Linked DNA regions of Homo sapiens: regions 1, 3 and 4 are each linked to region 2. Evidence: promoter capture Hi-C in 16 types of primary human blood cells and fetal thymus (Javierre and others, 2016). All regions are on one chromosome and are shown on one strand. Each heading gives the region's core, a stretch centred on a gene start or on the middle of the fragment in contact. The rest is flanking DNA. Distances are from core to core; before and after follow the strand shown.

Region 1 (2,700 bases), core at 185-2,684, 6.3 Mb before region 2:
AGAGTAGAAAATGAAGTATTTTTTATTAAGAAATGTAAAGATTTTAAGATTACTAAAAAAAAATAAAAAATATTCCTCATGCAGGACTACTGCCATCTAAAGGCCTCAGCATAATATTACAAATAAGTATTTGGTTCTATGTAGCTAAATGTCTAATATTTAAGTGCCATAGAGTTTTATTTTTAGAAATTCATATTTTTCCTATTTTTTTCCAATTTAGTAAATGAACTTTTTTCTTACCCCTTAAAGAATTATATGTGCCACAGAAGATATGTAGATTGGCTTAGGTTATACAAAAAGTTGAACATACAATGTTTAATTAGGAATATTTAGAAAAGCATATTTTAAACTAATGAAAAAAGAAACAGGCCATTTCCCTCCTTCCCAAAAATGTATGGCAAATCATATTTACAATATAGATGTTAAAATAAAGTATTATAAATTCACAAAAGATCAGTTATTGAGATATTATAGAGTCTAAAGCTTAAGCTAGCTAATCACAAGTCACACCTAAGGTTAAAATTGCTAAATTATAGTACCACCTCAATTAAAAGCAGATCAATTGTAATAATGAAATTTAATTCTAGAAAATCGGCTGTAATATAACTTCCTGTTTCTGAATATTTCTAAATTATTACATAACTCATAAGTATAAGAAAAAACAGTACATGAAATACTAAAAACAAAAAAACTCTAAAACTTCACAGCATGGTATTAATGTTACACATAAGCAAAAGTACCCAACTTCAAGAAGTCAACAAATAACATAAACCCAAGTTCATGTCCTTTACAGACCTTTCAAATGGCAAATATTTCCTACATTTAACACAACACTGATTTGAGTCAATTATCCTTATTAACTGCCTTAGTTGGCTCAGCGTGCCTTAACAGAATACCACACAATGGGGTTTAGACAACAAAAAATTATTTTCTCACAGTTCTGGAGGCTCAAAGTCCAAGATCAAGGCGCTGTCAGGGTTGGTTTCTGGTGAAGCCACTCTCCTTGGCTTACAGACAGCTTTTTTTTTTTTTTTTTTTTTTTTTTTAAAAGACAGGGTCTCTCTCTGTCACCCAGGCTGGAGTGCGATGGCCTGATTCCAGCCCACTGCAACCTCTGCCTCCCAGGTTCAAGCGATCCTCCCACCCCAGCCCCTACAACAGCTAGGACTATAGGTGCCTGCCACCATACCCTGCTAATTTTTGTATTTTTTCTAGAGATGGGTCTCGCTATGTTGCCCAAGCTGGTCTTGAACTCCTTACCTCAAGCGATCTGCCTACTTTGGCCTCCCAAAGTGCTGGGATTACAGGTGTGTGCCACGACGCCAGGCAGACAGCCGTGGTTTTGTGGCTCCTCACATGGCCTTTCTTGTGTGCTTGAAAACTCTGGTGCCCCTTCCTCTTCTTACAAGAATGCTAATCCTGTTGGATTAGGGCTCCACCCTTATGGCCTTATTTAACATTAATTACTTCCTTAAAGGCCCTATGTCAAATATAAACACATTGTGGGTTAGGTCTTCAACACATGAATGAGTGGGGGACAAAATTCAGTCCATGATACTCAAAGAAACAGAAATTAATTGGTATCTAAGTAGAAGACTGAACTTGTAGTTGATAATACAAGAGCTGTGGCATTTTATCAGTAAGTGTGATAAAAGTTTAATGTGCAGGGAAAATGAAATATCTTTATCCAAAAATAAGCCTTATGAAACAATTAAACTGAGTGTTTGTATTTAAACTCAGGGTTATGTAGGGAATGGGAGAAGAGAAGGGAACCATCCCCTATATTTCTGGAAGAGTCAGACTGAGGTTTGAGGTACAAAGGAAAGGTGAGTGGGGCTCAAGAAAGAGTACAAGCCTCTAGGATTGGATCATTTGCAAAATTCTCCCACAAAGTTTAAATGATGTGGACTCTCTAGCACAAGAACTGTTTGTGCAAACATGCAGAATATATATAATTTGTTAATCAGCAAGTACATAAGATTGTTGATGTGCATGTAATAGCCAGATCCAGTCCCAGGACCACTTGGTTATCGACCCAGGGGTCTTTTTCTCTTTAAGAGTGCCCTGGTTCCCTCTCTCCCCTTACCCCAAGTCAATTTCCTGTTCACAATTCAGCACACTCAAGAGGTTTTGTAAGGAGAAGTTTTTGCTAAGTCAACAAAAAACAATCCTTTTATACTCTTCCCTCTTACAATGAATGTACTAGTACATTTGTATTACTAAGGGAAGTCCCTAAAGTACCTAAAGCACCTACTCCCACATGAAACAAGATATTCCCCAAGGAAACATGTGCCCTTCAATGTGGCATGCACCTGGAAGTTTGACTTTGGTAGCATTCTATTGCAAGGTGCAGAGGAGAATGCCAAGGTCAATGCTCCAGGGCCAACAAGCTTTTTCCAGCCTCTCCAACAATCCAGCCTTTTCTCTTTTGGTTCACAGACATTGAAAACATGATTGTTGGACTCATCAGTGAACAGCTTAATCTTCTTGAAGATTCTTTACTTTTCCTATTCCAGAGAGATTTGTTTGGGGCTTTTAAGTGTTATAATGGAACAAGTTATCAATTTTATTCAAATGGGTCTACTAGGTATAAGTGTCCTCCTACTCAATTGTACTATCTATTGCACTAAATTAATCCTCTGATTGGTCTATTAGCCTCAGAAGGATTAGTATTTGAAAGGGTTAAATGCAGTTCTCAAT
Region 2 (2,700 bases), core at 108-2,607:
GAGGATTCAATAATATATGTAAAGCCCTTGGCATATATAAGGGCTCATCAAATATTACTTCCTCTATCACATGCATGCCTCCATATATCTGATTTTGCTTCAGCCAACATCCCAGTGCTGAGCACAAAGGCAGCATTCACTAAATACTTGCTCATTGGAAGAGATATACATATATCTTCCATTAAATGATAGATATATATTTAATGTACTATTTTACATTCACCCAAGAAGTAAACCAATCCTATGTTGAAGTTTTGTATGTTATCTCTGACTTGTTTGTAAGTTTTTGCCTTCACATGCTGACTTTTGTAAAAAAAAAAAGTCGAATTTTGTAGACTTCATATTTTCAAAGCATTTGCACAGCCATTATAGTATTAAAGACACTCTTAGTGGGTAAAAAGATAGATCTTATTCCCAGTCAAGAAATGGAAAAAACTGGCACTGGTGGCTAAGGAATTGTTCTAAATGACAGAACCAGTGTATTTTAATATACAGAAAAATGTCCAAGAGGCTTTATCTAAACTGAGATCTACTGACTCCTTTTCCATTGTTTTTTCCACTATACCAATCTCTTAGGCAAAAAAGACTATATCTGTAAAGTATACGCAGGAAAAACTATTTTAATTAACTAAAATAGTACAAATGAGTCTATTTCTTTTTATTCTGGGTACAGAGTAGGCACTTGATGACTGGATTAAAAACAGCACATGATATATCAATTGCAGTTCCTGGTTTACAGTTTTAAGTAATCGAGAGTGAGTTATTTAAACTGCTCTTTTTGATAAACATATTTTAAAGAGGGCTTTTTCTCCCAATGAAAATGTAAGAACAAGTTTCATTATTTTTAAGACAATTTCAATTTGGGGCCTAGCACATCATGCTTGAGAGCTGGTTTTTTCCTTATGCAAATGGATCCTTTCTCTAAACTGGTGCAAACCACACTTTGCCTGCCAAACTTATGACTCAAAGGCCCTGAAGGGTTTCTGTAGCCTCCCAGCCACAGCCCAGAAACCATAAGCTGTTTCCACGTGAAACATCCAAACACGGTCTCCCAAGCCTAAGTCTGCTACCATCAAGGCTTCTGTATAAAAGGCAAATGAGGAGGCAGCGCCCCCTTCTGCTCCCACCCCCTTCTGCTCCCACCCCCTTCATGTCAGCAGCAGCCAATCGCTTTTCTCTGTCGTGCAGTCGGCTCCTGGGATTGGCCAGGGACGGGACAGGCGCGGAACCACTGCGCGCACAGGCGGAGCGCGGAGACTTGTCCGTCACGTGCGGCCGCCCGGCCTCTCGGCCTTGCCGCGCGCCTGGCGGGGTTGGGGGGGCGGGGACCAAGATCTGCTGCGCCTGCGTTGTGGGCGTTCTCGGGGAGCTGCTGCCGTAGCTGCCGCCGCCGCTACCACCGCGTTCGGGTGTAGAATTTGGAATCCCTGCGCCGCGTTAACAATGAAGCAGAGTTCGAACGTGCCGGCTTTCCTCAGCAAGCTGTGGACGCTTGTGGAGGAAACCCACACTAACGAGTTCATCACCTGGAGCCAGGTACGGTCAGGCCACGGCGGCCTCTGAACCCCCTGAATAACCGCCTCCTCACTCGCTCTCCTGCGGGGTGGTCTCTCGCGGCCTTGCGGCTCGACGCTGTCTGCGAGGCCCGCGGTGCGGGGCCTTGGCGTTCAGCCTCGCGGGGGACCCCCTGTATTGTTCGCTCGGGGAGCCGCGGGGGCCCGGCCGGCAGCGCCGCTCTCCTCAGGCCGCGGTGGGGGAGGGGCGGCCCGCGCGGGGCGTAGCGGCCCAGGCAGCCCCTTAACGGTCCGGTCCGCGTTCGGAACCGGCCCGGCGTCGCGAGGGGAATCGGCGAGCCGAGGGCGCGGGAGCCTCTTTACTGCACACTCATCCTCCGTCCTCCCGCCCGGCTCAGGGGTTACAAATCGCGGAGGGGACAGGGAGCCCAGGGCCAGGATCATCAACGTGGGGCTTTATAGGAGGCGATCTTTACCTCAGCGACCGATCACCCCCAGTTCCCCCAACATTGCTTTGCATCTGGCATCTTTATGTGGAGAGCAGTCAGGGCAATAGACATACGTTCAAACGCAGGTTACTGCTTATCAGTTGGTTTTAAAAATATATAGAAATTAACAAATTATTCTTTTGAGATTCTGTGCTATTTGTATAATGGGATTATTAGGATTGTTTTAATAAAGTACTAATAGGTGGTAACTTAGTAGTTACTAAATTTCGCTGAACAGTTACCAGCAGAGGGGCATATCGATGTGTTGATTATTGGTTTGATCTCAACTCTGCTTCTAAACAAGCATGACCTTAGTCCAGCCCTTTATCTTGTCTGGCCTAAGTTAAATCTTTCATAAGATGGATGGGTTGCCTAGGTGACCCAAGACCTATATCAGTCCCAAATACAAGATTTTAGGCAGAATGATTATTTACATCCACAGTGCATGTGCATTAGAATACACTCCTAGGCTGTTGGAATCATTTTTATGAAGGAAAGTGGTTAACTCTTATTGTAGATGATCACCTATTGAGGCATATTTTCATATGTGTAGTTCTTGAGAAGAATAAGTGAAAACTACCTGCATAGTGCCTGGCACCTGTTAAGTGCTGAGTAAATGTTATCTCCCGTCCTCCTTTCTTTCCTGTTCTCCTATTATAGGAACTCTTAGTTTTATTTACTTTTGTCTTAACAGGGAG
Region 3 (2,700 bases), core at 195-2,694, 5.8 Mb before region 2:
CTGTTCTTTTAGTTACAGAACTATAAAATAATACATTTGCAGTGTTTTAAACACTAAATTTGTGGTAATTTGTTACAGTGGCAATAGGAAGCTAATATACAAGCCAATACACTTCAGGAGCTTATGAGCCCACAAGCCTGTTGAATGAGACTCCCTGGATTAAGACCTCTAGGTCATTTCTAACACAAGCATCCTGATTCTATATGTGCTGACACTCTGCCTTGGGCAAAACTGTTGCTCCTGGAAAACAAATATATCTATAATATAATATTTTATGAATAAAATACAATGTGCTCTAATATTTTACAGTGTGCTAAAGTGCAGAAAGAGCTGAATATAAACTTCATAGGCATTTGTGGATGTTTTACCTTAAGCTGCAAATAAACATTTAAATATATTTTTCTTCTGTAGTTGTCAGTTAGTGGCATCAACAGAACTATTTACTATAAATTATTTCATAATGTAGACATATGCTAGCATTTCAAATGTGAGAAAGCAAATGTGAAAGCACAATCAATCAATCTCTGGATCTACATGGTGTTTTATTGATTGCACAAATTTCATAAGTCGATAATAGGTGACCTATTATTGATAAGTTTATGCCTGCCGTCATTCTTTCATGTTGAAATAACTTGAATTTGGAAAAGCTGCCTACAAAATAAGCATCTTTAGTCCAATGATGATTTAATAGATCCTATGCTGTCCTGTGAGACAGGTTTATATTTCATGGGGAAGATAATGCAAAAAGCAAAATTCATCCAAGTTATTACTGGCAGAGCTAGAATAATAATTTAATATGCGATTCAGTACTGCGCGCCATCAGGGAGCCTGATGTTTTGAGCTCCTTCTAGGAAATTGTCTGGGGCTCATTGGCATGGGGTGCCCTGAGCCAGACCAGACTGCGGGGACCCGTTTCTTCCCTTCCCCACATCCCTACACTCTTCGACCCTCTTCCCACAGCATGGCATGCCGGGGTGTTCTAGCTGGAAGTGCCAGCTCCCACCTGCAGCCCTGGAGCCGGCGAGGTGGTGGCAGCAGCAGGTCCTTTCCTTGGTGTGCCGCTGCACTGGGCCCAGGGTGGTCTCCACTGTGTGCCGCGGATCAGGCTGTCCTCTGGGGTGGTGTGTCTACTACCAGTTCTCTGATGGCTTTTGAGGGGCCTTACAGATTGCTGTCCCTTTCTGGCTTCAGATCAGTGTTGTGAATCTGTGCTCTCTTGGGCTGGTCAAGGACATTCCCTGCACTGGAATGGAACTGCTTATCTGGCACCACCCTTAGGACCTTCTCCCTTCTTCCCACTTGGTGGCCAAGTGTAGAAGGTGCGGTGCAGCGACATTAAAAGAGACATCGTTTTAGGAATGCAGTGATTATGGCCTAAGGCATTCAAGAAAAGACATAGTTGGAAGATGTGTAGTAAATTTAACTGACTGGAAAATAACCATTCCCATTTTCCTGCATACTTTGGGTAAAATTTCCATTTGTGGTCATCAATAAAGAACATTCTTTGAGAAAGACTTTGGAAGCCAGTATTCAGGAGCAGCAGGATGAATGACGCAGCTTAACGAGTAATGATGTGACCAGCATTACAAAAAAAGGTATTGGGATACTGCAGAGGCAAGAAGAACGATTTTGTTTTGCTAGAAATGACAGTGAGCCACGGGATTGTGTGTAGAAGCACTGCTTTTTTTTTTTTTTTTTTTTTGTTCTTCTAAATCATGGTGAGAGATATGAAATTAGACAGTAGTGCATTTGACAATAAAGAACATGAAGAGATGGCTCTTCTTCCTGAATAGAAAGAGATGGTGCCTGGACACTATAGAGAATCTTCAGACAAACTGATTAAACAAAAAGAAATGTATATGTATTGTCACAGGCTCCTTCAGGTGCTGCTTTACCAGCTGGAAACCTCTGTGGCCAGTGGTACCTCTACTTGAGTTTTGCTTGTTCCTGCTGGACTCGTTCAGCCCACTTGGCCCAGCAGGCCGTGCTCGCTTGTGCTACCGGCCCAGATCCTATGCCTGCGGAGAGTGAACCAGGCGCGGAGCGGCAAGGCGTGTGTGAGCGAGCAAGTACGGGGTCCGGCCACTGTACACAGCAAGCATGCCGGCTGCTGCAGCGGGGTGGGTAGCTGCCGCAGCGGGGCGGGTAGCTCCTGGCACCGTCACCGAGCGAGACTGCGGCGGGACCAGGCATACCGCAAGCAGCTTCCACTGTAGACACGAGTGTCTGGACGAGGGGAACGCGGTGGCACCCAAAAACTCAGAGATTCCAGGAACCACAGAGCTCCAAAGAGGGTGTTACAATGTGTCACAGCCCTGGCTCAGGGAGCCCCGAGGTCTGTGCTTCCAGAATGGCCACAGCTCTTCTCTCCCTCTTGTCATCTGCAGTGTGGGCAGCGGGGATGGGGGCCATGTTTGAGGGAGTGTATTTCAGCCCCTTGGTGGTATAGGTCTTTCAGTCTCAACACCCCGCTCTGGCCTGGCCCTGCGGCTGCTTTCGGTCATATGGGGCAGCCGCCCTGCACTAGCAGAGGGTGGGAGGACTATAGTGTTAAAGCTCTGGCTTGGGGACTCCCAAGATCTAGGTCCCCAGAAGGGTTGCCACTCTTCCTTCCTGCAGTCTGGGAGCATATCACCGCCCACAGCTCAGCAAGCAGGCCAGGAACATGTCACAGCCCCTTTAGCTCCCGCCTGCAGTTCA
Region 4 (2,744 bases), core at 207-2,706, 6.1 Mb before region 2:
GGTGGTAGGAGACCTTGTGCAGGAGTATTCCCAAGGGCAAATGTTAACCAGACTGGAACCCAAAGGGCCTGGGGATCTCTACAGGCTCCCTTAGCGGGCGACGTCGGGCTCTACGGACTCCTTCACGCAACAGGTAGTATTGCAGTGGATTTGGCCACAGATCCTCTTTAATAATCTCAGCAATTTTGTCGGACTCTGGAAGGCTGTGGTCTGAAAACCAAGTGAAGAAGCTGCAGATGAGGTCTTGGTTTCTGCGAATGAAGGACTGGGGTTCATGCCCCCTGCGCCATATAATTGGAGTAGAAAGAGACACCACTCGGCCGGAGGATCTTACCTCATATTCCTTGACAATCAGCTTGTTTCTGAAGTAGGGGTTTCTTCTAAAGAAGAACTTGAACTTGCAACCGGTTCTAGGGTGTCTGAGTTCCTTCACCTCTAAATTGGTTATGTACCTTAACATCTCTGCATCTTGGCCCCTAATCATGGCGGACAACTGGGGGTGGTTTCGAAAAGCAGTCATCCAGAAGCCCGGGATATTCTGAATGATGTAGTTCCTCCGCTCCAGGTAGTGTCGACGCATCCGCCCAAACTTGTGCTCCAGCTGTTGGAAGGCCCTGTCGGCCTGAGCATTCACAGTGTCCAGTTCCAGCTGGATGGCCTCCAGAGGGTCCATGCGGAGAGCCTCATGCAAAGGCCAGGGCCCTTCTTCCTCCCTCGCCTCCTCCTCCAATCTATCCTCCTCCGCCACTTCTATTTCTTCACCTTCTGGCGGCTGCTCCTCTACCTCCATCTGCTCCTCCATTACCTCCTTCTCCGCCAGGCCTTCCTTCACCACCTCAGCGCTCTCCCTCTCAGCCACGGCTGCTGAGACGGTGGCGCACTTTCCTGTCTTCACCTCCTCCGCCTCAGCCTCCGCCCCCGCCGTCAGCTCAGACGCGGATCTCTGGGCGCCACAGATTTCTAGGGCCTTCTCTCCACCCTGAACGCCCTTTTTCAGGCTGCGGTCGGCTGCCATCACCACAGAAGCGGCTGCCAGGCCTTCGGCGGGAGGCTGGCCCTCTTCCTGCCCGGCTTTGATCGCCACATGACCGCGACCCCCAACAACTCGGATCTGGGGAGTACCGCCACGGCCCGCGGCATCCTGGGGTACGCCCCCCTCCTCTGAAGGCGGTGGAGGCGGGAGCGCGACGGTCTCCGAGCCTCCCTCACCCGGCTCCGCCATCACCTGTGTCGCCTCGCTTTGGTCGCGGAGCCTCAGGTACTGGTGTGCGTCCTGGTCGCTCGGGACTTGGTCAGAAATAATGATGCTGTGGGTTTGGAGGGGAGTGGTCCTCTTGACCCCATCCAGGCCGCTCATGTTGCTAACAGTCGGACCAACCGCAGGCGAACGCCCGTTTTCCTCAGAGGCCGAACTGGGAGCTAACCGCCGCTCGCACCGCCCACCCTACAGTCTCACTAACATTTCAGCGGCGGTGTCGTCAGGACTGGAGATCTCACGGTATCGCGAGAACTTGCTGAGCCCGGGATTGGTTCCGCCGCTCCCTGCCAGCCAACCGGATTCTCTGGGCTTTATTTCTGTGAATTTACCCATAGCAACAGTAATTTTACCTACGTAAATAAATGTCGATTGTGCTGAGTCTGGAAGCGCGGACGACCCACCTTGAGATGCATCTAGCGACTGCTCCCAGCATGTAGGAGCAGTTGTAAAATCACAGCCGTAACAGTGCCTGCTCTCCAGTGTCTGAAAACAAATGTTTTTCTGGTCTTCACTTTTTTGAGGCAGGAAGGTAAATCTATTCCCTGTTACTCCACGTAACTAGCAGCAAAAGACTTCTCTTTAAGATTAATAGCAAAATGTTTCCCCCCTTCTTAGTAAAAGTGACATAAAAATATCAATTCTTGCCTCTACGGTTACTGGGGAAAAAAAGCTACTCAGCAGCCTCTTACCACTAAAGCGATGCATAGTATTCATTGCTAATTTTCGATTTATAATCTGCATCAAATAAGAGTTTGTGCTGCATAGTATCGGTAGAAATTAAGCCAGGATCAGTTTGCTAAATGTTCCATGCCTTTTCACTGCAAGAAAGAGGAAATTATAACTATTTCCAGCCCCAAGAACTTAATTTATTATCATATTTAGTTATGTAAGATAGGAATGTTTGGCTCTAACGAAGCATCTGTCTTTAGCAATCAGCTGAGTTCATTAGAGGGGGATGTCAATGTCTCTGGTTGAAGTGTTCCAGTTTGTTGACTTGTGAGTTAAACTGGTGCTGTCTTAGAGAGCTACAAGGCCTCAGAGAAATATCAGTGGGGGGAGCCACATACCACCATTTTGTGAGGAAAGGCTAGTTAAAATGGACAACTAAGATGGCCTTGAAGTAGAAAACAAACTTGCAAAGGGCAACATGCAGCTGGTGGACTCAAGGTATAAAAGAGGCAAACGTTATTTTCTACTTAATTTGCTTTGTGTGGTAGTAGCCTGATGGCCCTCAAAGATGTACCTGTCTTAGTTATGCGGCCAAAGGGACTTCGCAGATATGATTAAGTTAAAGATTTGGAGATGAGAAGATGATTCTGGATTATACAGGTGGGCCCTATGGAATTACAAATTTCTTATAAGAAGGAGGCAGGAGGGTCAGTCAGAGAAGATAAGAGGACGAAAGCACAGAGAGAGGGAAGGAATGGTGGAGAATAGGTGTGGGAGGGAGGAAAGGGAAATCGCTATGTTGCTGGCTTTGAAGATG

The links. The method cuts DNA at HindIII sites, captures the fragments that hold promoters and counts their contacts. A CHiCAGO score of 5 or more calls a contact.
Region 1: a fragment that was not itself captured here is called in contact with the fragment with the promoter of HSF2 in region 2 in 2 of 17 cell types (non-activated CD4 T cells and total CD4 T cells); the score reaches 6.0 in non-activated CD4 T cells.
Region 3: a contact is called between a fragment that was not itself captured here and the fragment with the promoter of HSF2 in region 2, in 1 of 17 cell types (naive CD8 T cells). The highest score is 6.5, in naive CD8 T cells.
Region 4: the fragment with the promoter of TSPYL1 here is called in contact with the fragment with the promoter of HSF2 in region 2 in 1 of 17 cell types (activated CD4 T cells); the score reaches 10.8 in activated CD4 T cells.

The regions. Positions count from the first base shown.
Region 1 is chr6:116,097,082-116,099,781 of GRCh38, forward strand. It overlaps a transcript of FRK not described here. Among named protein-coding and RNA genes, the nearest start is that of NT5DC1, 2.4 kb to the right of the region's middle. The HindIII fragment of the contact is 1,907 bases long and covers 482-2,388 here.
Region 2 is chr6:122,398,295-122,400,994 of GRCh38, forward strand. It overlaps HSF2 (heat shock transcription factor 2), which reads left to right and starts at 1,358. Exons shown (of 13, transcript NM_004506.4): 1 at 1,358-1,536. The coding sequence starts at 1,444. RefSeq lists silencers at 1,094-1,413, 1,684-1,803 and an enhancer at 1,654-2,153. The HindIII fragment of the contact is 3,471 bases long and covers 1-2,700 here.
Region 3 is chr6:116,563,009-116,565,708 of GRCh38, forward strand. No RefSeq gene overlaps it. Among named protein-coding and RNA genes, the nearest start is that of RWDD1, 7.1 kb to the right of the region's middle. The HindIII fragment of the contact is 5,903 bases long and covers 1-2,700 here.
Region 4 is chr6:116,278,474-116,281,217 of GRCh38, forward strand. TSPYL1 (TSPY like 1) reads right to left here and starts at 1,457. Exons shown (of 1, transcript NM_003309.4): 1 at 1-1,457. The coding sequence starts at 1,357. The coding sequence ends at 44. It also overlaps a transcript of DSE not described here. RefSeq lists enhancers at 821-870, 891-1,160, 1,391-1,450. The HindIII fragment of the contact is 6,415 bases long and covers 1-2,744 here.